7 separate regions of the Homo sapiens genome follow, and all the other regions are linked to region 4. The links are contacts of gene promoters, found by promoter capture Hi-C in blood cells and fetal thymus (Javierre and others, 2016). All regions are on one chromosome and are shown on one strand. The core of a region is centred on a gene start or on the middle of the fragment in contact, and the rest is flanking DNA. Distances in the headings are between cores, read along the strand shown.

The links. Contacts are between HindIII fragments. The CHiCAGO score rates a contact against its expected background, and 5 or more counts as called.
Region 1: a fragment that was not itself captured here is called in contact with the fragment with the promoter of TMPO in region 4 in 1 of 17 cell types (naive B cells); the score reaches 6.1 in naive B cells.
Region 2: a fragment that was not itself captured here is called in contact with the fragment with the promoter of TMPO in region 4 in 1 of 17 cell types (naive CD8 T cells); the score reaches 7.3 in naive CD8 T cells.
Region 3: a fragment that was not itself captured here is called in contact with the fragment with the promoter of TMPO in region 4 in 3 of 17 cell types (total CD4 T cells, non-activated CD4 T cells and naive CD8 T cells); the score reaches 10.0 in total CD4 T cells.
Region 5: a fragment that was not itself captured here is called in contact with the fragment with the promoter of TMPO in region 4 in 4 of 17 cell types (non-activated CD4 T cells, naive CD8 T cells, erythroblasts and 1 more); the score reaches 12.4 in non-activated CD4 T cells.
Region 6: a fragment that was not itself captured here is called in contact with the fragment with the promoter of TMPO in region 4 in 1 of 17 cell types (activated CD4 T cells); the score reaches 6.7 in activated CD4 T cells.
Region 7: a contact is called between a fragment that was not itself captured here and the fragment with the promoter of TMPO in region 4, in 2 of 17 cell types (non-activated CD4 T cells and total CD4 T cells). The highest score is 7.6, in non-activated CD4 T cells.

What each region holds. Positions count from the first base shown.
Region 1 is chr12:96,390,213-96,393,876 of GRCh38, forward strand. The region is part of intron 1 of CDK17 (cyclin dependent kinase 17); the gene reads right to left. Among named protein-coding and RNA genes, the nearest start is that of CDK17, 8.4 kb to the right of the region's middle. The HindIII fragment of the contact is 2,664 bases long and covers 895-3,558 here.
Region 2 is chr12:96,411,674-96,415,120 of GRCh38, forward strand. No RefSeq gene overlaps it. Among named protein-coding and RNA genes, the nearest start is that of CDK17, 13 kb to the left of the region's middle. The HindIII fragment of the contact is 1,865 bases long and covers 1,050-2,914 here.
Region 3 is chr12:96,357,269-96,360,885 of GRCh38, forward strand. All of the region lies in intron 1 of CDK17 (cyclin dependent kinase 17), which reads right to left. Among named protein-coding and RNA genes, the nearest start is that of CDK17, 41 kb to the right of the region's middle. The HindIII fragment of the contact is 4,569 bases long and covers 1-3,617 here.
Region 4 is chr12:98,513,738-98,517,512 of GRCh38, forward strand. TMPO (thymopoietin) reads left to right here and starts at 1,853. Exons shown (of 9, transcript NM_001032283.3): 1 at 1,853-2,409. The coding sequence starts at 2,131. TMPO-AS1 (TMPO antisense RNA 1) reads right to left here and starts at 2,489. Exons shown (of 2, transcript NR_027157.1): 1 at 2,254-2,489; 2 at 1-2,160. RefSeq lists enhancers at 1,473-1,552, 1,813-2,002 and a silencer at 2,343-2,612. The HindIII fragment of the contact is 4,246 bases long and covers 1-3,775 here.
Region 5 is chr12:96,374,048-96,377,683 of GRCh38, forward strand. All of the region lies in intron 1 of CDK17 (cyclin dependent kinase 17), which reads right to left. Among named protein-coding and RNA genes, the nearest start is that of CDK17, 25 kb to the right of the region's middle. The HindIII fragment of the contact is 1,518 bases long and covers 712-2,229 here.
Region 6 is chr12:96,339,561-96,343,311 of GRCh38, forward strand. All of the region lies in intron 1 of CDK17 (cyclin dependent kinase 17), which reads right to left. Among named protein-coding and RNA genes, the nearest start is that of CDK17, 59 kb to the right of the region's middle. The HindIII fragment of the contact is 6,875 bases long and covers 1-3,751 here.
Region 7 is chr12:96,262,099-96,265,536 of GRCh38, forward strand. All of the region lies in intron 4 of ELK3 (ETS transcription factor ELK3), which reads left to right. Among named protein-coding and RNA genes, the nearest start is that of ELK3, 69 kb to the left of the region's middle. The HindIII fragment of the contact is 7,613 bases long and covers 1-3,438 here.

The DNA.
Region 1 (3,664 bases), core at 977-3,476, 2.1 Mb before region 4:
GCGATGTCAGCTTACTGCAACCTCCACCTCCCAGGTTCGAGTGATTCTCCTCCCTTCAGGCACGTGCCAACACGCCCGGCTAATTTTTTTGTATTTTTTAGTAGAGACGGGTTTCATCATGTTGACCAGGGTGGTCTCGAACTCCTGAGCTCAGGCGATCCACCCACCTAGGCCTCCCAAAGTGCTGGGATTACAGGCATTTTAAAAAAGCCTTGGCCAGGTGCGGTGGCTCACGCCTTTAATCCCAGCACTTTGGGAGGCCTAGGTGGGTGGATCACCTGAGCTCAGGAGTTCAAGACCAGCCTGCCCAACATGGTGAAACATGGTCTCCACTAAAAATACAAAGATTAGCCAGACACAATGGCGTGCACCTGTAGTCCCAGCTGCTCAGGAGGGTGAGGCAGGAGAATCGCCTGAACCTGGGAGGTGGAGATTGCAGTTAGCAGAGATCGCACCACTGCACTCCAGCCTGGACGATGGGGTGAGACTCCATCTCAAAAAAAAAAAAAAAAAAAAGACAGAAAAGAAAAAGAAAAAAAATCCTTCAAGTTTAAAAGTAGACCATGGAACAGTTTTTATTTAATTACTGTAATTCCATTTAAAAACAAGGCTGGGTGTGGCGGCTCAAACCTGTAATCCCAACACTTTGGGTGGCCAAGGTGGGTGGATTACCTGAGCTCAGGAGTTAGAGACCAGCCTGGCCAACACTACTAAAAATACAAAAATTAGCCAGGCATGGTGGCACACGCCTATAATCCCAGCTACTCGGGAGGCTGAGACAGGAGAATTTACTGAACCCGGGAGGTGGAGGTTGTAGTGAGCTGAGATTGCACCACTGCACTCCAACCTAAACGACAGAGGGAGACTCCATCTCAAAAAAAAAAAGAAAAACAAAGCTTCTAGTCAACTGTATACATAAACTACCACAGCAGAATGAATAACATTAAATGCACTGTTTGATCCTTTGAGTACAATTCTGCACTGCAGTAAGCGCATTTAAGCCAATACTACACAGTTAAATAGCTAGATTTCATTAAGGACGATTTTGGGGCGGGGGGTTGTTTTGTTTTTGATTTTTTTTTTCTTTTTTTTTTTGAAACAGAGTCTCACTCTGTCACTCAGGTTGGAGTGCAGTGGTGTGATCTCAGCTCACTACAACTTTCACCTCCCGGGTTCAAGCAATTCTCATGCCTCAGCCTCCCAGGTAGCTGGAATTACAGGCCTGAGCCACCACGCCCGGCTAATTTTTTGTATTTTTAGTAGAGATGGGGTTTCGCCATGTTGCCCAGGCTGGTCTCGAACCCCTGACCTCAAGTGATCTGACCGCCTTGGCCTCCCAAAGTGCTGGGATTACAGGCGTGAGCCACCGCGGCAGGCCAGTTTTTTTCGGTTAAACCAAATTTTACTCCTGATACACTGACCAATATTTTTAGACCTTCAGAAATGAGTACTTTCTTTACATATTAACATTATAATTTTATATTTCCATTTTGTCTAAAAGACAACAATCTTTGAAGGCCACACCCCTTTTCTCTCCATTTTCACTAACAAGTTAGTACAGCTCACATGCAATTAAACAGTCTCAATAATGCCAAGTTACTGTCCCTCCAAGTTGGCCTACAAACTGCTCTAGATTGCTCTCACACAAATACCACCAAAACTGTATAGCTCCAATATTTGAAACCTTTTACACTTTTTATTATCTACTATATCAAAATGTATTCTTGATTGCTTCTAAGCCTACTCTGACCTTAATTTACCAACTCGGTGTTGTTCCTCCTAATTCCATCACTTTATTCAATTTAAGAGTATGATAATACGGGAAGAAATACAGAAATGAAAAAAAACACGGCCTCTCTGGAGCACAACGCCAGCCAAAAGAGGGAGAGACCTGAAAATAATTAATTACAACATAACATATTAAGTACTACAGTATACATAAATACTATATAGCAGAACCACCATAACTGTCAGAATGGAACAAAGATCACGTTGGAGAAAGAGACGTTTGGGCTTAAAAATGAGAATTTCTCTACAAGTGTCATAGCATTGTAATATCAACATACCAGTTTCTTCATCTTTGTATCCTAGCCCCTACCATAGTGTCTAGTACAGAGTAGGCAGGTACTTCAGACATGGATGGATGAATGGACGGCAGTACGGAAAAAAGGATAAAATAAGATACATATATAAACATAAAGAAAGAATATGGTTAGATTAAAATGGGACAAAACTGGAGCCAGTAAATCAGATAAGACATTCCAAAACCCTTACGTAAGAAAGTGACACAGGAAAAAATAAATTTAAAAGATATTTAGGAATTAAAATTAACAGGACTTGGTGTGACTAACTGGACTAAGGGGAAATGAGCATAACAGAAAAGCGTAAGAAAGAAGCTGCCAAAGTTTTTGGCTTACGTGACTAGGCTGACAGTGGTACCATTCACTGAAATTGGGAACAGAAATAGGGGATTCGAGTTCAGTTTAGGTAAGGGAGCACTAAGGCAATATCGAGTAGGAAGCTGGAATGCAACTCAGAAAAAGAGGTCTAGATTAGAAATAAAGAGGTGGAGATTATTGCATATGGGTGATGAGAACAAAGCCCTAAATATAGACCAGATTGCCAGGAACACATAAAACCTGGAAAGAAGGCTGTGGACAGAATACTCAGACAACCAACATTGCTGTTATCTTATATGTTACAATATTGCCACATTAAATTATATTGTTACAACACAGATAACGGCTAATACAATATTGAGGACGTAACAAATGCTTTAAAAATACCAACTGCAAACCTGAGTTAATTGAAAAATTAAATTTATTAACTCAAATTGAGACATAAAGGACCACTTCTTAAAACCAATTTAAGGCCAGGCACAGTGGCTCACACCTGTAATCCCAGCACTTTGGGAAGCTGAGGCGGGTGGATCACGAGGTCAGGAGTTCAACACCAGCCTGGCCAAGATAGTGAAACCTCATCTCTACTAAAAACTACAAAAATTAGCAGGGCATAGTGGCAGACACCTGTAATTCCACCTACTCGAGAGGCTGAGGCAGGGAGAATCGCTTGAACCCGGGAGGTGGAGGTTGCAGTGAGCCAAGATTGTGCCATTGTACTCCAGCCTGTGAGGCTCCGCCTCAAAAAAAAAAAAAAAAAAAAAAAAAGCTAATTTAATAGGTCAGACTCAAGGTGCTTAAGTCTAAGGAATCCAATTTTACTTCAGAATCAGTAAAAAATCTGGGCACAGTGGCTCACACCTGTAATTCCAGCACTTTGGGAGGCTGAGGCAGGCAGATTGCTTGAGCTCAGGAGTTCAAGAACAGCTTGGGCAATATGGCAAAACCCCATCTCTACTAAAAACACAAAACTTAGCCAAGACTGGTGGCGCTGAACCTGTAGTCCCAGCTATTTGGGAGGCTGAGGTGGGAGGATCACTGGAGCCCCAGAGATCAAGGCTACAAGAAGCAGTGATCACACCACTGCAATCAACCTGGGTGGCAGAGTGAGACCCTGTATCTTAACAAACACAAACACACACACACATACTCAATGAAAAGCTTCTTTTTCCACCAGAAATAACATTACAAGTCAATAATATAAAATACTAAAATCTAAGTTGTTATACTTCAAAAAATGTTTATTCTAAAATAATACTAAAAAA
Region 2 (3,447 bases), core at 732-3,231, 2.1 Mb before region 4:
GTTGCCCAGGCTGGAGTGCGGTGGTGAATCTCAGCTCACTGCAACCTCCGCCTCCTGTGTTCAAGCTATTCTCCTGCCTCAGCCTCCCAAGTAGCTGAGACCATAGGTGTGCGCCACCAAGCCCAGTTAATTTTTGTATTTTTAGTACAGACAGGGTTTCACCATATTGGCGAGGCCGGTCTCGAACTCCTGACCTCAAGTGATCCACCCCCGGCTTGGCCTCCCCAAGTGCTGGGATTACAGGCATGAGCCACCGCACCCGGCCTCATATATACTTTTCAACTACCATTTCCTTCAAGAATTCCTTCAAACAATTTATATTTCATGTCTACAATGAACCAGGCACTGTAAATAATGGAAACATGACACAGGCAATGTCCCAGTCCTCAAAGGGCTTAGTGTCTATCGGGGTGAAGAAGGTCTGGCCATAACTTAAAAAGAGCTAATAGCCTAAGATAAAAGTTTGAATATGCTGCTCAGTAGAAGAGGGGGACTTCTAGCTGGGAGAAGTGGTAGGAGTAGGAAACCAAAGCAGGTTACATTGCTTAAGAGACAAGTTGATGAGCACTTACTGGTGCCTAATTAGGAATCTAGCATTGAGTGCTATAGAGAATGCAGCAGTACCTTAAGTGGCAATCCTTGGCCTCAATGAATGCATAATATGTAGTTTGACCAAATATCTTAGCACAAAGCAGAATTTGGAAGGAAGTCAACCTATTTCTATTCGTTCTATAGCTTCTGACATATTTACTTCAAATGTTAATTGTTTATTAACAGTAAAACTACATGCAAGGTTTTTTATTTGCTTACCTGAGAAACACTGCCTTTCTTTTTGTATCTGATTCCTGCCTTTTGCTGTTTTGCAAACTGAATATCTCAGCTTTTTCCTGCAGGTCACATACTTCCAAATCAGATTGAGACAAGTCTGTATGGTTCACACAAGTGACACCAAGCTAGCAAAATACAACAGGCTCAAACTATGCTGGAATTGAGCCTGAGGGGGACTGATCAGTTTTATTCAAAACAGAGAATGAACTGGAATGAGAAGAAGCTTTAAGTAGACTTTGAAAAGATGATAGAGGAAGAATGGAAGAAAAAGTCATTAGGTTTTTAAGAACTTTCCACTTTTCCCATATAATATAAAATATTAATTTATCTCTTCCCCTTTTATCTTTTTTTGGTAAACACTTTTAAAATCATACATTAGCAACATCATAAAAAAATTTAGAAATGAAAGAAAATTGCCCATAACTTTACAACTCCAACACAGTAACTTGTATCATTTTGGAGTATTTCTTTTTAGCCTTTATTTCATATTCATATATGCTTTAATAGTATACAGGTAGATTTGTATTATGTTCTTCATTTGTCATTATCGTAAATACTTGTTCCTGTTGCTATAGAGTCTGCATGATTATTCTATTTGTTGGCTGCCTAATACTCTGTGACCTGTGTTTTGTGAACCTTCCCTAACTCCCTGCAAAGTCTTTCCCAAAACGTGCCTAGGAGTCATTGGAGTGAAGGGGTGCCACTCTTGTTTGGGGTCCTGCCCAGTCAGCTACCATATAGATCATTTAATTCCCCTTCTCCATTGCTGGGTACCACAATGTTTTCATGCAAGCGGAGTCTGCACATGCTGCTTTGAATGAAGGGTTTTAATTTTTTTCTTTGGTGTTTGCACACATTGGATTTATTTCAGATTACTCCATTTATGTGAATAAACAAAAACGAGGGAAGAAAATTTTTTCTAAGATTTTTTTTCTATATGAAGGAAGTCAATTTCTAATGCATTAAGATGCAGTGTTTACCAAAATTGGGGATGGGGGGGTGTTTATGTGCATTTTTGTGAGAAATCAGATACAGGGATGGCTGCCTCTGCCACCATTTCCCTGGATACTATTAACTTCCCAGATGGGATGTCCATTTTAGTTTATTCTCCCAAACCACCCACCTTGATTTCACCCACTGCTGCTACAAACTAAAGGATTCCTGCTTACAGTGGGGAAATTGGACTGGGAACTAACAAAGGCCGTTGGGATTCCCAGCAGTAGGTACCTGTTTTTCCTAGACTACCTTTAAATTATACTCATTCATGAAAAGAAAGTTTTTGTCCACATGCTGGGCTTAATATGAATTTTTAAAAAATATTTGCTCCTGGGTTCCAACTCTGACTCTGTCACTTATAACCGTGTATTCCTACTTAGCAAGTCACTTAACTTCTTTGATCTCCATTTTCTCATCTGCAGATTGGGATAATACTTTCTGCTTTGCAAAGTGATTGTAAGGAGGCCAGAGGCAATGCTTATATAGTTCTCAGCATCACAGCACCATATTGATATTGATAGCTAATGTTGTTATTTATTGTTCATATACTAACAGCAGATGTAATTCAAATAGCCTACCCCATCTTCGAAATGGCAGACAGGAAATACCAAGAGTCAAAATCTCAACTCTCTTTTGTTGTTTTGATCGGCAATTAAAAAGAAATTCTTGGCTGGGCACGGTGGCTCACACCTATAATCCCAGCACTTTGGGAGGCTGAGGCGGGCAGATCACCTGAGGTCAGGAGTTCGAAACCAGCCTGGCCAACATAGTGAAACCCCATCTCTACAAAAACTGCAAAAAAAATTAGCCAGGCATGGTGGTGCATGCCTGTAATCCCAGCTATTCGGGAGGCTGAGGCAGGAGAATCCCTTGAACCCGGGAGGTGGAGGTTGCAGTGAACCGAGATTTCACCATTGCACTCCAGCCTGGGTGACAAAAGTGAGACTCTATCTCAAAAAAAAAAAAAAAGAAAGAAAGAAAAAAAGAAATTCTTGAACTCAAAAAAAAAAAAAAAATTCAGGCTATGAAAAGATATTTTATTGAATTAAATGTGAAAATGTATGACTTTTTTATACTTGAAAATTAAAAAAGCTTTAAATTAGCTTCCTGTACCTTTTTCTCTTTAAAGCAATGGGTTTATTTCAACATATAGCCCCAAGAACTCACCAAACTGTAGTATAAAGTATTATATCCAGAGTTCAGACAATGGCAAAGTGACACACCAGGAAAAGCCAGAGTTTGGGTTTTGAGAATAGAGACACACCCAGGTAAAGGCTGGTGTTGGTTATTTCAGATGCTTAAATCTGCTATTGGATTTGTAACTGGGACATCTGTCATTAAAGAAGAAAAACAAGCAGGAACAAGATGCGGTAGGTGGCAGATGGATTTTCCAAGCAGCTGGCAGTTAGCACAGGTTTGGACAGGTTGGAAGTCAAGGTTGAGAAAATCTGATAGTCACACATTTGGAACAAAAGACTTCACTTTCACATAATTTTGTTGTTTGTTTTATTGGTTGTTTTTTTGTTTTGTTTTGGTTTGGTTTGGTTTGATTTGTTCTGGTTCCAAATAACTTTCTTATGTCACTATGGGATGCCCCATTGAGGAAATGTAATGGCTACATAT
Region 3 (3,617 bases), core at 481-2,980, 2.2 Mb before region 4:
AGGCAACACAGTGAGACCCTCAATTCTACAAAAAAAATTTAAAAATAGCCAGATGTGGTGTCATGTGCCTGTAGTCCTAGCTACTTAGGAAGCTGAGGCAGGAGAATCGCTTGAGCCCAGGAGTTTAAGGCTGCAGTGAGCTGTGACTGCACTCCAACCTGGGAGACAAAGTGAGACCCTGTCTCAAAAAACAAACAAACGAAAACAGGAGAGACGAGAAGGCAATTATTTTACATCTCAGTTATGTGATGAACACTCTCGGTCGTGAGTGTGCATATAAGTAATGCGTCTCTCAAAGTACAACTACAGAAAGGTTATAGTAGACTACTGATAATTCTGAGATTCAAATTACCCTACCTAGCCATTTGAAAACCAACCTTTTTAACTGATAAAGCAAGCACTGAGAGGTTACACCTCTGGGTTGTACATGCCCTACCTTCTCTGTGAGAGCAATCCAGCTTATTTTATCTGGTGAAATGTTAACTAGTAATAATATTAGGCCAGTAAATTCAAATTCTTCCTGAGAAAGGTATCCTGAGATTTTAATCCTGGGTACATATCCAAGAGAAACTGTAACACATTTACCCAAAAATATGAACAGAAATAGTCACAGCAACATGTCCGTAATAGCATAATACTAGAAACAACCTAAATGTCTATTACAGACCAGATAATAGGTAACAAATTACGGTAATTCATAGAATAGAATGTTATTATACAGCAGTAAAAATGAATGAACTACAACCACATGCAACAAGGACAAATATTAGTAATGTGATCTTTAACAAAAAGAAGTCCCAGAAGACTACATTTAGTATTTTTTATAAAAATAAAAACACACAATATATTTACTGTTTAGGTAAACTATATATAATGCTTTTTAAAAATACAAAGGATTAAAATAAAGTTTATGATGACAGTTACAAATTAGGGAGAGGCAAGGAGAAAAGCACATAAAAAGTTAAGTTACTGACAATAAGAAGTTGGGTTAACAGATATTAATTATTTTATTGCTGTATAACTACATACACACACAGATATGCAGATTATGCAGGGACCAGTGAGGATCTTGTCATAAGCCCAGAACTCTGTGCAAACTTGTAAAAAAAAAAAAAAAAAAAAAAAAAAGTTTAGGGAAAAAAGAATAAAAACAATAGCATAATTAAAAAGTAAAAGTAGATTTTAAGACAGTAAAATGTATACATATATTTATTTACCTGTTTCTTAGTAAGTGTGCAAGGTCAAATATTTTAATAATAAAAAGGATACAGGGGCCGGGCACATGGCTCACATCTGTAATCTCAGCACTTTGGAAGGCTGAGGCAGGTGGATCACCTGAGGTCAGGAGTTCGAGACCAGCCTGGCCAACATGGTGAAACCCCATCTCTAGTAAAAATACAAAAAAAGGTAGCCAGGTGTTGTGGCACACACCTGTAATCCCAGCTACTCAGGAGGCTGAGGCAGGAGAATTGCTTGAGCCCAGGAGGCGAAGGCTGCAGTGAGCTGAGATCAAGCCACTGCACTCCTGCCTGGGTGACAAGAGTTGAGACTCGGCCTCCGTGCCCGCCCCCACCCCACCCCACCCCACCCCACCCCAAAAAAGGGATATATGGCTAGAGTCAAAAGAGTGAATTTCTTTTTCCCAGACCTGCCACTAGGTAACCGTATATTCTCAACAGATGACTTTCCAAAACTGACTGGTCAGATGGCTTTTTTTTTTTTTTCCTGAAACAAATGGCCTATATTTGACATCATTAGGTATAAAATTTGATGTCATCGGGTATGAAATTTGGTCTCTTTTGTAAGATGTATCACTCCATTCTTGGCTTCCCTTCATTTCTTGGCCCACCAACGTATCTAATACCTGCTACTATTTGGCCCACAAATAAAGCACCTTACTAATCATTCCAGCAGATTCTCTTCATAATTTATACAGATTATTATAACCACTAAGGACAAACATGAAGATACATACACCATGGGAGAACAACTGTTTTTATCTGAGATGTGTTTATTTGATAAATGTTCCTTTAAAGAAGACATTAATTAATACCAACTGTAGCAGTCAGATTTGACTAGGTTATAATAACAAAGATTTTATTCTCTTTCATGTTATACATCCACTGAGCACTGACTGGAGGCTCTGCTCCAAGTCTTCAAGGATCTAGGCTGAAGGAGCTGCTACTATGGCAAGAGGATAAACAGTGGCAAAGTACTGTCTATACAAACTCACTCAAAGTGTCCATCTGGGGTATTACACATTACTTTTGCTCAGATTTCATTGGCTAAATCAGGTCACATGGCCATGCCTAATTTCAAGTAGGTAGCAATTCCTATCATATTCCCAAGAAAAAGAATATAGCTAAACAATTTTCACAATTTCATAACATTTTGGCATTTGGAGACAAACACTATATTAATTAGCATACTATGATGTATTAAAATTCAAGAGTAAACAAAAATAAACACAATTTCTTAAAAAGATTTATACTATAAAACTCAAAGAGCAGATAAAGTTTAAACCAAATCCCCATCAAAATTCTGAAAGACAGAAAACAAATTATCTATATCCCTTGATAAGTACATAGAAATTTCAAAGAAATATTTACTTTTTCCTCTAAAAATCCCTATAAAGTAAACCGAGACATTCAAGCTATCTATAGTCAACAAATCTCCACTATAAAGGAAATAAAGCAGGAACAGACATAGTAATTATAGATTTGTTTAATTATACTTAGGGGAAGGTAACCTACACTAAAAGGTATTAAGACAGAAATGACACAAGAGCCTATAACATGCACTATGATGGGGGAAGGGATCTGGAAGTGGGATTTATACAGGCCAAGGTGACCCCACTAAATAATGGAGAGGAAAGCATACTGCAATCAAAATATCTAGAAGTCTTGGAAACTCTCAGCATGACCCTGTATCCAGCATACGTTTAGGTACTAACGAAGAAAGTACATTGAAGGAAACAGGGTTCACTCTACAAGCGTAATGGAGGTGGAAGGGTTGACGGGAAGAGGCCTGATCATTTGAAAGGTATCTTGATAGATGGATTTACATTCTTCCCTGGAACAGTTTTACAAGAGCTGGTAAGATATGCCAGTGAGAATGAGGCATATTCAATCTCATTAACAACTGAACTAGAAAAACCTAATCAAGCCTCAGGTAGGTGACTTCTGGAGGGTATCACATAATCTTTGATACCAGGTTAAGATTTGGTTTAAACATCTCATTTTCTGAAGAATTTTAGATGCCAAAAATTATCAAAATAAGATCCCTCCCTTCATCAGGTAATTTTATCATGACTCACCTAGTTTATATGAATCCTGTGTTAGGAACTAAGGACAGAGAGACAAAAGACATCAGCACTGGCCTCAAGATGAGAAACACTACAGAAAAGCAGACAACAATGCAGTGTGATAATGACGTATACCCAGGCAGCTCTGGGACCACAGAAGACATCCAACAGGATACCAAGAACAGGGAAAGGCTCTGCACATTGCAGAGGCTCAGTAGCTATTAATGTGATCTCCTGGACTTTGGCTGGCAAAGGCCTAGTATTCTGACCAGTGTATTAGGCAGGGTTCAGTCAAGAGACAGAAACTACACCT
Region 4 (3,775 bases), core at 603-3,102:
AAAGTGACCAGGAGGCTCGTGGATGATGGCAGGAAGGAGAGTAGAAAGTGATTTAGCCAGAAGATATGAACTTCAAATATTTTTGAAGCAGAAAAGAGCAGAAATGGTTTGGAAGTAGCAATCAGGACCAAAGAGACCACCCAAACTCAATAGCCCAACCTCTTAGCCTTAGGGTACGCAGAATCTGAAAAGTGTAATCTCAATTTTGGAGCTCTACAGCAGTAAATCTGCAAGTAACCACCTGTAGCTAATGTCCAGGGATTAAAAAAAAGATAATGAAAATGTTTTTGCCCAGGAAACATTAATTTCAGGCGTATCTAGAATGCAGTTCTTGCATTATACGTACTGGGTTACCAGTCATTGCAAAGTCATGGTCCTTTGCCTCTCAGCTCAGTTCCCCTTCTGAAGATAAAAACATTTGCCTATGTGTCCAGGGAAGCTGTGAGGACAAAAAACCAAGCAACTTTTACAAGGGATCATAAAAACCTACCTAACAACTTGCTAATTAAAACCTGATTTTTAATTTGCATTATTGAGCTTAATACCATTGCTTAAATGTATGTGAATACTGAGATTTTTATAAAGGAATTAGTTACCTCTAGGAAAATAATTATCACTAAAAGAAATAATATCGCAATTTGAATAAAAGTAAGTCGCTTAAATCATAGGAAACATTTTTAGTGAAGGCGTTTGTTTTAAATGTATTCTAACCTAGCAATGTAGAAAGCAGGCAAACATTTAAAAAAAATTTAACCAGTTTCTAAAACATAGTTTGGAGCTCAGATTCTGGGGAAATGATTAACACACCCTACATCCAAGGTCTCCTTTCCTTTCTAGAAAGAAAGCATCTTTAAACATACATATTCATCAGAAATACAAATATTTGTCATCAGTGATACTAATTTCCAGGCAAACATTTTAATTGCAGTCAATGTATTAGATTCTACCAGGTTTTAATTTGGATCGGTAATACGGGTTTGATTAGGGTTCTAGGCCTAATTATAGGTCACTAGTCTTCCTTTAGGATTATGCACCATCTGTTATTTTAAATTGACCATTGAGGGGGTTCCCAAGGGTTCTCCTTCGTTTTGTTATCAAACGTTAGGTTTAGGATTCTTGCGGGTGGTGGGATCCAAAGCCAGAGACGGTTTCAACAAAAATGCAAGCGCGAATTTGTCTTGCGTCTGAACGCACTGTTCAAATTAAACAATTTAGACATGCCCCAACTATGACACTAAGAAGTGAATGGTATAGTACACTTTTGTCACAAATTCAAGGGTAATTTAAGTGCCCGATTGTAGAGGTCTGGCTTCCCCTGGGTTTCTGGAACAAAAGAAGCGTTCGCGAGGAGAGGGGTAACTCCCCGCCCTCCCCCTCCCAAAGTAAATCAAATCAAGGAATATGAGTGCCTGCAGACAAGCCTCGCTTCTTTTCTTCCCCTTCAGGGCTAGCGTTTGGGGAAGGCAAGGCTGCGGCTACTCTTGGAGCTTCAGTGTCCCGGGAGGAAGAAAGGCCCAGCCAAGGGTCCTCACACTGGCGTGGAATTCGGCGCGTTCGTAGGCGATCGACCCCAGAGACGAAAGCTGCTTCTCAAGCTGGGGGAGGGAGAGGAAACGGCGCACAAAAGCAGTACGACCTGTCCCTTATCGGCGTCTAAGGGGAAGGGTGGAGAAAACGAAAACAGAAGCGGGCCGGGAGCCTCGGCTCCCGCCCCAGCGCCTTTTAAACTGCGTTTCTACCTCCTCTCGCTCAGCGCGGCGGCTAATGGAACCCGCGCGAGCCGTCTCGCCAATCACCGCCGCGCTTCCTCCCGTCGCCCGCCAATGGCGGCGCGCGTTCTTGGGGCGTGGGCGAAGCAGGCTGCTCGCCTCCTGCCTGTAGTGTGTGGGCTGGGGTTGGTGCGAGCTTCCAGCTTGGCCGCAGTTGGTTCGTAGTTCGGCTCTGGGGTCTTTTGTGTCCGGGTCTGGCTTGGCTTTGTGTCCGCGAGTTTTTGTTCCGCTCCGCAGCGCTCTTCCCGGGCAGGAGCCGTGAGGCTCGGAGGCGGCAGCGCGGTCCCCGGCCAGGAGCAAGCGCGCCGGCGTGAGCGGCGGCGGCAAAGGCTGTGGGGAGGGGGCTTCGCAGATCCCCGAGATGCCGGAGTTCCTGGAAGACCCCTCGGTCCTGACAAAAGACAAGTTGAAGAGTGAGTTGGTCGCCAACAATGTGACGCTGCCGGCCGGGGAGCAGCGCAAAGACGTGTACGTCCAGCTCTACCTGCAGCACCTCACGGCTCGCAACCGGCCGCCGCTCCCCGCCGGCACCAACAGCAAGGGGCCCCCGGACTTCTCCAGTGACGAAGAGCGCGAGCCCACCCCGGTCCTCGGCTCTGGGGCCGCCGCCGCGGGCCGGAGCCGAGCAGCCGTCGGCAGGGTAAGGACGCGGGGCCGGGGCTACAAAGGCGGGCGTTTGGCGGTTGCCGCGCGCGCTCGCCGCCGTTTGCAGCCCCTCCCTCCCGGGCGCCCCCTCGGGCCTCCCAGGTGCGGGGCTGTCCCTGCGCCCCCTCGCGTCGCCCCTTCCCCGCGGGGCTGCAGGCGCCGGAGCGGAGAGGCCAGAAGTTGGGGCCGCGGGGTTCGCGTTCTTTGACGTGTGGGTCTGGGAGGTGTGGAGTTGCGTTGGCGGCGGTTGTTTTGCACGCAGTCGACGCCGCTTCCCTGGACCACCAGCCGCCTGCAGCGGGCGTTTAGACGGGGACTTCCGTGCCCTTTCGAAAGCTCTGGAGGGGTGGCCCCAAAATGCTATAGGTTAAGTTCGAGCGTTTTCCCGCTTTATTAACTGAAATGACTCGCAGCAGAGTCTCAGAGCGCTCCCTGGAGGGCAACTGATGACACTCTAATTTCTAACCAAAATTTGAAATGAGGAAATTCCCGCCTTTTTATACTTTTGCGTGTGGAGGGCTTTTTGAACCGTTTATGTTTTCTAGTTTGTTTTAATTTTTCCCAGCAACAGGCCATCTTTTGGCGGAACAGGTTCATGCCGAATTAAAAGGAGCATTTTAAACTATATTTTTAGGCGCCTATTATAATTTTTTAGTTTTTATTTATTTATTTTTTTAGATGGAGTGTCGCACTTGTTGCCCAGGCTGGAGTGCAATGGCGAGATCTCGGCTCACCGCAACCTCCACCTCCCGGGTTCAAGCGATTCTCCTGCCTCAGCCTCCCGAGTAGCTGGGATTACAGGCATGCGCCGCCACGCCCGGCTGATTTGTGTATTTTTTAGTAGAGACGGGGTTTCTCCAAGTTGGTCAGGCTGGTCTCGAACTCCTGACCTCAGGTGGTCCTCCCGCCTCGGCCTCACAAAGTGCTGGGATAACAGGCGTGAGCCACCGGGCCCGGCCCTGCAAACAAATATTTGAAAATTGCAGTTTGGATTGCGTTTTCCCCACATATTGGTAAATTTTGCTTGAGGAAACGAAAGACTTAGGATTCAGGAAAAATTTATTTCATGACATTCTGGTGCATCAGTATTGCAATTTGGAATGTCTGATCCTGGTTAAATCTCAAATCGGCTCCAGCAAAGCATGTTTTGTTTCAGAATAGTTTGCTTTTTTACCTGTGGATTTTAATATGCTTTTTGTGGGTTTGCTTATGCCTGCCGAGTTACCAGGCTTCAAATCGTAATAGGATGAAGCTAAAACTAGTAATTGGTGTAACATAAAATGCCTTGTAAGAGACAGTGAATGTGGTGTTTGGAGTTGTTGGGAATGATCACTAGTTTAAACCGAAATTATTCCTTCCTT
Region 5 (3,636 bases), core at 221-2,720, 2.1 Mb before region 4:
TGCCACTGTATACTCCCAAATTATGAACATCTGATTTATGTTCTGTATATAAAATTGCAAGCTACATATCACTAACCCTCTTTCCCCATTAACAGCCAAAATGAGAAATTAAGTAACTTTCATGGAGCAACACGGCAGCCAAATTGGTAAAATTATTTCTATGAAAATATTATCAAATTCAGATAACTAATCTGCAAACACATTTTCCCACTAGGCAATTCTTAGGTGAAGAATGTCATGAACTGAATAGTTCTGTGAACAGCCGTTATTTTGTACATGCGTAGAAAAATTGTTAAGTAAAAATTAATCTCTGGGGCCAACAGGTCATTCTTCACCTAGCCTTACAAGAACTTTGTGTTCTGACCCCACTACTTTTCAGCTCCATCTCCAGAGATACACAGTGAGTGCTTCATTGCCTCAAAGAAATTATTTGTAGCTTCTATTCCCTTAAGGTGTTTTGCTCAGGCCTCTTAACTTTGCACAAGCATATCCCTCTACCAGGAACAATTAACCCCTTCCCCTTCATCCCATTCTCTGACCTCTTGGCAAATTCTTATACTTCCTTTATAAATTTAGTCAAATGCCCCTTCTTCCTAAGAAGCAACATCAGAGATCTCAAGACTCTGTGGAAACCAGGAAAAGGGGGGAACTAATTTACTTCTCCACAGAAGTAAAGTAAGTTCAGATGGGCTGAATACCAGTCAAGCAGTAAGCTTTCAAGCAAGTGAGGTCATGAGAAGAGCCCATCAGAAATAAATGAAACAACACAATGCTACAGCCACTCCAAAGGCAGAAAGGTACATATACTTGGATCTACTGTAATGCACAAATATATTCTTGTCCATCCCAATCCTAATCCACCTAAGACTTTCTCCACATCAGCACCAGTTCATCTCAGCACTGCTGAACAGTCACACAACAGAACAGTTTGATCAGCGAACCTAAATGGGCCTCAACACTGGCCAATAATCTTACTATATTTCTCTGCTGCACTTGGTCTCCTACTCTCCCCAATGTCTACTTCAAACCATCTCCACCATCCACAATTATATGATGACCCTTTCCCTAACCCATACAGTGTGCCTGTGTGTATACATATGTACACAAAAATGAGTTAAACATAGAGCTTTCAGGTAGAAATTTCCTGAACTAACCTACACCAGTTATCTTCACTGCTCCTTGCCTATAATTATAGGAGTTTGACCAGTCCTTCATTATCCTAAACACATTTTCCTTGGCTTCTCTATAACAATATCTTGGTTTTCTTCCAACCTCTCTGGCCACTCCTCTGCAGATTTATTCCACCCCTTTACCCCACCCTCAGCCACACATACACACACACCAGTGTGGCCTAAGTCCTGGCACAAGCATTTTTCTTCTATGTTTCCTCCTTAGGCAAGCTCATTCTGGGTGGACAACATCTACACACAGTGACTCCCAAATTTCCATCTCTGATCCTAACCTTTTTTTTTTTTTTTTTTTTTGAGACAGAGTTTTGCTCTTGTTGCCTAGGCTGGAGTACAATGGCGCGATCTCAGCTCACTGCAACCTCCGCATCCTGGGCTCAGCTCACTGCAACCTCCGCATCCTGGGTTCAAGTGATTCTCCTGCCTCAGCCTCCTGAGTAGCTGGGATTACAGGCACCCACCACCACGCCTGGGTAATTTTTTGTATTTTTAGTAGAGATGGGGTTTCACGATGTTGGCCCGGCTGGTCTCAAACTCCTGACCTCAGGTGATCCACCTGCCTTGGCCTCCCAAACTGCTGGTATTACAGTGATCCTGACCTCTTTATTAAGCTGCAGACTCACCTATCCAACTGCCTACTTGGGCATGTCTGACACCTAATTGTTAAAGTCAGGCCTCATTCCCCAGGGGAAAAATTGAAAGTCAAACTATTCACCAAGAGAATGCATTGTCTTTGCAAATGAGCCTAAGAATCAGACTTTTTATAAATACATGTTCAAGTTTCTTGTGGTTCTAAATGGACACTGAGAACTGAAACTGTCTACACCAAGTTTACAATCTATATTAACTATCATTATACAGCTGTCTTCAACAACATGACTTTGCTATTCCAGGAAACTCCTGCTCAGGCAGATAAGAGCTACAAAAAACTTCATTGTTCATTTCAGGAACTTCCCAAAAAACCCATATAAACCAACATCAGACTATTCAATTTTTCAATAAATAGTAGCAAATGATTGTTCACTTTCTAAGACACTGAAAAAGCTTACCTCAAAACTCTTACCTTGGTATGTCTGTCCAATCAAACTATTATATCATGATCCTCACCTAATTCTAATAAAGCTTTGAAATACTTAAACCAGACTCCAAAACATCAATAATAAACACTCCAACTTTGATGTTCCTTTCTGGTTTGCCATTCTTATCAACACCCACATGGCCCCCTACAAATGCTTATAAGCAATATACTCAACAGATAATTTTTGGTGGTATTTTCCAGCAGCCAAAATTCCGCAGTACCACCAGACAGCTTCCCAAATGTCTGTTACAAGCTCAGTTCAGTGACACTAGTCTCATCACAAGCAATGTGGGGAAAATATTAATACTGTTATAAAAGGTTAAGATAAATCATCACCCTATATTAGGCAGTATCCACTGACACTACTGGCCAGTTTCTTAATGAGTTAAAACAGCAAACTGGCCTACTAATTAAACTTCTGAAGATTATAAAATAGAGTTTAGTAATCAGAGGACCATAAAACCAGTAGGAGTTCTAAGGAAGATGAGAAACAGATCACAGACAGGTTTAATAATCTAAAAAGGAATCCTATAAGAAACAGGATAAGGAAAAAACCAATTGATACATGAATAATCCACAATACTGATAATCAGTAGAAAAAATACTACAAAATATACAATTTAACAGTGAAAAGAAACTCTAAAGGAGTTTCCATTTACTATAATAATCATGATCAGTAATCAGAAAGTTGAGACTTCTTACTGAGAGTAAATGCCTAAGTATTTCTTTTACTATAAGTCATCTGAATCACCTATATGGCCACAACCATGCTGATGCAGGTATAACCAGAAAGCAAGGGGTAAGCATTTAAAATGCCTCAAAGATTGAGAGGAACTGAAGGATCCAAATTTTAAAATCCAAATGTGAAAAACACAACCACAAGTATTAGAAGAAAATGTGGATGAACTTCCTTATAACCTTGGAATGGTGAAGACTTTTCTAAATATATTTCAAAATCCAAAAACATAAAAGAAAAAATTACTTCACCATATAAAAGTCGAAAGTTATGCATGAAAAAACATAATCTAAAATATACATATTTGCAACCCACATCACAAATAAAGGGCTAATCTCCCAACAGAAAATTCCTGAAAACAAAGACCAATGACCTAAGAGAAAAATAAAGGACATGAGAATTCAAAGAAGGGAAAAAACGTAAAATGCCCCTTAAACATATGAAAAAATGTCCAATGTCATTGATAATGAGAAAAATACAATAACCTGAGTTAAACCAGTTCTCATCTATCAAATGCAAAACTCAAAAAGTCTGACAACACATTCAGTTGCTGAGGTTATGGGAAACAGGCCTGTTGCACATTTAGGTGGTAGTACAAAATGGCAATCTGGCAGCATCAGAATTACAGAAGCAGT
Region 6 (3,751 bases), core at 51-2,550, 2.2 Mb before region 4:
AAAAAAACCTTAGTGGCTTCAGACAATAACATTTATTATCCCTCACCAAAAAAAAGTTAATAACTATTATATTAATAACATGTTGAGGGCCAAGCGCAGTGTCTCATGCCTGTAATCCCAGCACTTTGAGAGGCCGAGGTGAGCGGATCACTTGAGGCCGGGAGTTCAAGATCAGCCTGGTCAACATGGCAAAACTCTGTCTCTACTAAAAATATAAAAATTAGCCAGGCATGGTGGTGCACGCCTGTAATCCTAGCTACTTGGGCTGAGGCATAAGAATCACTTGATCCCAGGGGGCAGAGGTTGCAGTGAGCTAGGATCGTGTCACTGCACTCCAGCCTGGGTGACAGAGACTCTGTCTCAATCAATCAATCAATAAAATAAAATAAAATAATGTTGAAAAATATTTTAGATGTTTAAGTAAAAAAATCACCAAAATTAACTCTGCCTTTTAAAAAGTTTTCAAAAAATATGCCTACAAAAATCTTAAAAATTACATATGGGGTGCACATTACATTTCTACTGGACAATGCTGACATAGAGCATTTTATATGCTCTATGTCAGCATGGTTTTAAGAGAGTCTAAGAGAAAAAAATAGAATCACATAAACCTTAACCTTTTCTTCATATAGTGCATTTGAACAATGTATCAGGGGACATTCTATGCGCTTCTAACTCAGAATAATACGCATGGCACTTATTTCATCATCAAAGAGTGAAGAAAATCCTGGTCTATAAAGTAATTTTAACTATACTTATTTTATATTCTGTCAGGAGTAAGAAAGATATTTCTAATTCATAAAAGCAAGAGAAAAATACTTATAAAGCTAAACCTTACTATAAAATTTTCAAATAAAATCACATCTTCAAATTGTTCCTATTTTTAATCTGTGGTATAATTGTAAAATTTTAATTAAGTTACAATGATTTGTAAACACAGATAATAAAGAATTTCATTACCACAGCCTAGATCATTATTAAAGAAAAAATATTCCCAAATGAAATAGGTTCCCTGACATTTCTAATTATCTTTAAGTAGAACTGTGCATATCAACTTTTTTCGTTAGCTGAGAACAAAGGCACATATGCTAAACTAAAAACACCTTTTGTGACATAAAAACTACTACTTACACTGGCTTTAAGGTTAATCTTTAATATTTACTATAATAGGGCAGTGCTAAATTACTGATTATCTAAAATTGGAACACTCAAGAGTTTGGTTAAAATATTTTATCAGTTTAATAAAAATTTTTGAGATTATGAAGATCTTTACACTATCATTTCTTTTTTTAACTTTTATGCTCAGGAGTACATGAACATGTTTGTTATAGAGGTAAACTGCATATATGGGGGTTTGCTGTGCAGATTATTCTGTCACCAAAGTAGTACGTATAGTACCCAATAGGTAGTTTTTTTATCCTCTCCCTCCTCCAATCTTCACCCTCAAGTAGGCCCCGGTGTCTGTTGATCCCCTCTTTGTGTCCATGCGTTCTCATTGCTTAGCTCCCACTTATGAGTGAGAACATGTAGTATTTGGTTTTCTGTTCCTACATTAGTTTGCTTAGAATAAATGGATGAATCTGGAGGCCATCATCCTACGCTATTGTTTCTATGAATATTAAGATAGATTAAACAGTGTGACTTAATGGTAAATGACTAAATATTCACATTTCAGTGTAAATGTCATTCTTCAGAGGGCCCTTTTCTGACTCTATTCCTCTATCCTTAGTTTTTACTCATAGCACTTATCATATACATACACACACACACACACACACACACACGTCTCATATATGTACGTGTGTGTACTGCAAAACTAATGTTTTTCTAGATGTCAAAAACACTTCTAGCTTTTTGTAATACTTAGATCAAATTTAAAACGGTAAAAGGGCAGTAAAGGGTTACAGAATGACAGCATATAACTCTCCATTTAAAGACAGTTGAAAATGTTCAAAAATCAGTTATCAACAATAAGTACATAAAAGGAACATGCAAATATAATGAATTATCTTACTTCGCCTTGGGCTAAACTTGTTCTTGGATTATCTGCTATACAATTAAGGAAAGGTAAGAATTCTATTTACTTAAGGAATATAGATAATGATTCTAGAATGCCAACTCAGTTTGGGCCTTAGGAATAGAAAAATATGCATACCATACACTGTTTTAAAAGAAGATAACAGCTAAAAATACTCCCAAACTAGATGTTCTAGTATGAGTCTTTACTTGTAAAAATGGTGTTATAGTGTGGTTTTCTCAGCACTTGCAGTAAGAAACTCTTTGCATACAATTTCACCTTATAGTCAAGCTACTCTAATATAAAAGGACTTATTAGAGTGGCAATCCACTGTTTATGTTTTTGAAATATTCTTAAAACAATTTTTTGTTAATAATTGCAAAATATTAAAGAAAAGGCTAAATATTGTTTTTAAATGACTAAATGACTTTCCTTTAGGTAAATAAGCAAAACATACACGTAGAACAAATCAAGTATTGTGAAGAATAAAATCTAGGATTTATTGGGAAACTAAGATTATTCCACGTAATGTTGCTTTTGTCAGTCTTTCTGAAATATCAAACAGAGATAAAGACAGATTTATTTCTTCATAACATTTTCAGCAACGATGACTATAAATAAAAACTACTGTAAAAAAAGTGAACTCATTAAGTGGCATGTAAGCAAATATTCTGTTATTTTCCCCACAATAATTAAGCCATGACAAATACCCAACACACTCTAGGACATGTAAGCTAATCATACAGAATGAGGAATAACCAGTGTTTAAAACTTAAACTTTTTTCATTAGAGACAATGTTGTTATTTGCATAAAACACAAAGTAAAATACAAAAATTAGCCAGGCGTGGTGGTGTGCACCTGTAATCCCAGCTACTTGGGAGGCTGAGGCAGAAGAATCGCTTGAACCTGGGAGGTGGAGGTTGCAATGAGCTAAGATCATGCCACTGCACTCCAGCCCAGGTGACAGAGCAAGATGCCATGTCAAACAAACAAACAAACAAACAAAACCATGAAGTGATTGTACAAAACACTGACAGAGCACTGAATTAAAATTTCAATCATGCTATAGGTTTTTTATACAAACACTTAAAATTTTTAATCCTTGGCCAAGTGTGGTGGCTCACGACTGTAATCTCAGCAATTTGGGAGGCCAAGGCAGGCGGATCACCTGAGGTTGGGAGTTCAAGACCGCCTGATCAACATGGAGAAACCCCGTCTCTACTAAAAATATAAAATTAGCTGGGTGTGGTGGTGCATGCTGTAATCCCAGCTACTCGGGAGGCTGCCGCAGGAGAATCGCTTGAACCCAGGAGGCAGAGACTGCAGTGAGCCAAGATTGTGCCATTGCACTCCAGCCTGGGCCAACAAGAGAGAAACTCTGTCTTAAAAAAAAAAATTAATCCTTGATGTGTTCAAATCTGAGGCTGATTCTTTTCTTTTGATAGTATGAATAGTGAAACACACAAACTAGAAAAAAAGAAATGTACCAAAGATTTTCCTCCATTCAAAAATACCATAAGAAAGACAATATTAGTTTATTATGACACTTGAGGTGTAAAATGTCAGAGAAGAATGCTCTAGAGCTTGGTTCTTGTACCAAAAACAACCAGTAAACTGGAAAAACAACAAGAATCAACTATCTTCCAAGTATGGAACCTAATTAGACACTAAAAACAACCAGGAAAGTGCTTCATGCAGAGGCTGCTGATCTTGACTCACATGGGCAAACCAGT
Region 7 (3,438 bases), core at 344-2,843, 2.3 Mb before region 4:
ATTTCCACCTCCTGGGTCCAAGTGATTCTCTTGCTTCAGCATCCCAAATAGCTAGGACTACAGGCGTGTACCACCACACACAGTTAATTTTTGTATTTTTAGTAGAGATGGAGTTTTGCCATGTTGGCCAGGCTGGTCCCAAACTCCTGACCTCAAGTGACCTGCCTGCCTTGGTCTCCCAAATTGCTGCGATTACAGGTGTAAGCCACCGTGCCTGGCCCAAAAACATTTTTGTCATGTTCCTAGTGATACTACCCAGTCTAGGAACCAATTTGAGAAGCACTGCAGACCAGAGGTTCCTAGTTTATATTTAGAATTCTGCATCAGAAATTACTGCATTTAAAGGCTACCTGCTTAGAGTTTTAATTTCACCAAGTGGACCTGTTCTCTTTCCTGAAGCCATTCAGAATACAACCCTTGAAAAAAAAGACAAGCTGGTATTCCGGATGGCTGACAGGTTGTATGGCCTTGGGCTCTCTTTTTGTGGCTGGATCCAGGAGACTAAGGAAAAACAATTTTTTGCCTTTTAAAATATTATTAGTCTTCCTGTGAAAAGAGCAACTGAGTATGGCAAAAGTTGAAAATAGCAATTTTGAGAACGGTAAACAACAAAATATGGTAGAGGAATAACTTTCTGATTTTTAAAACTAGATGTTACAATTGATACATATTCAGAATTCAGATTACTATCAGCAGTGCCTCTTATTTTTTTAAGAACTTTTTTTTTTTTTTAAATTTAGAGACGGGGTCTCATTATGTTGTCCAGGCTGGTCTTGAACTCCTGGGTTCAAGTAGTCCTCCACTTCAGCCTCTGGAGTAGCTGGGACTACAGGCATACCACCACGCTGGCCAACATCCCTTTTAAACTGATGAAAATAATTTTCTTTCAAAATAACAACAAACCTCTTTCATGTACGCTATAGATGTAATGAAGGAAGAAAAAAATAGATTTGGCTTACACATTTTAAATGATGCTGGCAAGTTTCCTATTACCATGATTGGAAAGGTTGATCAGAATCCTTGGGGTAATAGTTGAACAGCTGAAGCATTTTTGTACAGAAGGGCCCCTAATATGATTACTATAGCAGGTTATAGCAGATATGAAAGAATTCCAAGGAAGGAGAGAGAAGACGCCTTTCTGGAAGAGGTATGCTTTAAAATTGAGAAATGTTTAGGTAAGGAGAGAGGCACCGAAGACATTGTGCTAAATGTAAACAAAGAACCTTGATTTATATAAATAAAGTGAACTCGGTTTTTCTTGGACAGTTTATTATTTTCTTCTTGTCTAAGGATGTCTGTTCCATGACTTTTGAAACAGATTTTGTTCCAATGTGGAATATACCTAGTAGGAATAGGTATGTCTTGAAACAAGGTAGAGCTAATTAAGTTTTCAATTAAGAATGTGTGCTGTAATTTTTAGTTCAACAAATCTAACCCCAGCAAATATTTGCAATGCTCTGCGACAAGGACTGTAGGGACAGAGAATATGTGAATAGTGGATGAGTAAACAAACTGCTGCAGAAAGTAAGGGGCAGACGCGCTTTTTCCAGCTGGCCACTGGACAGGCTCCAAGGAAGCAGTGGCGCCTCAGCTGGGAGGAAGGGACAGGATTTCGATCGAGTACATTTAGATGAATAGAGCCGAATGACGGGGACGTGAGAGTCTGTTCAGGAAGGGACCAGGTGATAGGAGATAAGGTTGGAAACGCAGCTGTGGGCCTTGAATATAGGCTTAGGAATTTCTCTCTTTATCTGTTAAATGTTTACGCTTTTTAAGCTGGAGGTAGGAGGATGAGATCTCTGTTTTAGAGAACAATCACTGATATTAGTGTGGAGGAAGAACTGAAGAGAAAGTGGAAGGAACAGGAAGATAAGAGGAAATTTTTATTTTTATTTTTTGAGATGAGCTCGCTGTGCTGCCCAGGCTGGAGTGCGGTGGCACAATCTCGGCTCACTGCAACCTCTGCCTCCTGGGCTCAAGCGATCCTCCCACCTCAGCCTCTCAAGTAGCTGGGACTACAACTACAGGCATATGCCACCAAGCCTGGCTAAGTTTTGAAATTTTTTTGTAGAAACGAGGTCTCACTATATTGCTCAGGCTGGTTTTGAACTCCTGGGCTCGAGCAGTCCTCCTGCTTTAGCTTCCTAGGAAGGGCTAGGATTACAGGTGTCAACGACCATACCTGGCTAGAGGAAATGATACTACAAATATTGAAGGGAGAATCATCTTTGAGATTAAAACAGTGGACACAGGATATAATTAGAAGACATTTTAGAGGTGAGCTCAAGAGAGGCAGACTTTGAGCTGGGTCTGAGGGGTAAAGTAGGTATTGAAAATTAAGTAGAAGCAAAGATTACTAAGTGATTAACATACTGGAAATGCTACTAAATAACAATAGTTAAGGCCGGGCATGGTGGTTCATGCCTGTAATCCCAGCACTTTGGGAGGGTGACATGGGTGGATCACTTGAGCCCAAGAGTTCGAGACCATCAGGGGCAACATAGCAAGACCCTGTCTCTCCAAAAAAAATACAAAAATTGGCCACGTGTGCTGGCGTGTGCCTGTGGTCCCAACTACTAGGGAGGCTGAGGTGGCAGCACTGCTTGAGCCCTGGAGGTTGAGGCTGTAGTGAGCCATGAGCATGCCACTGCACTCAAACCTGGGCGACAGAGTGATCCTGTCTGAAAAAATAAAGATAAAACATAACAATAGTTAACATTTATTGATGATTGATGACTTATTGTGTGCAAGACGTTGTTCTTAGCACTTTTGGTGGCTTCTCATTTAATACTCCCAGTAATTCTATTTTAGAGATAAGAAACTAAGGCACAGGGATATTGGCTAGTTTATTCAAGATAACACACTCGTAAGTGGTGGAGCCCTGACTCAAGTTTTAAGTTTGTGGTCCCAGCCACCATTCTCACTGACTTGGAGTAAGCAATGGAAGAAGGGCGAGTTTTGTGGGAAAGAGGCATTGGTTGGAGATGTCTAAAATGGAAATGGTTGTCAAGTCCAAGCATGGTACTGGAGAAAAGGTGGCTGGGGACAAAAGTTTGGGAAACGTTGCAGTTTAAAATAGGGGAGTGTCATGGGAGAAGAGCCTAATAAAGATGACTAAAAAAATGTTAGAAAAGCCAGGCTAATCAAGAGAAACTATGTCCATTGAGTATACAGAAATAATAAGGGCAGAAATCAGTAATTTATTTTGCAAAACAGATGAATACCAAAACTGATTCTCTTGAAAACACCAATAAGGTACACCAAAGAGAGAGAAGATGCAAATAAACAAAAAGAATGAAAATGCAGGCTGGGCACAGTGGCTGACATCTGCAATCCCAGCACTTTGGGAGGCTGAGGCAGGCCAGTTGCTTGAGCTCAGGAGTTCCAGACCAGCCTGGGCAACATGGTGAAACCTCGTATTTACCAAACATACAAAAA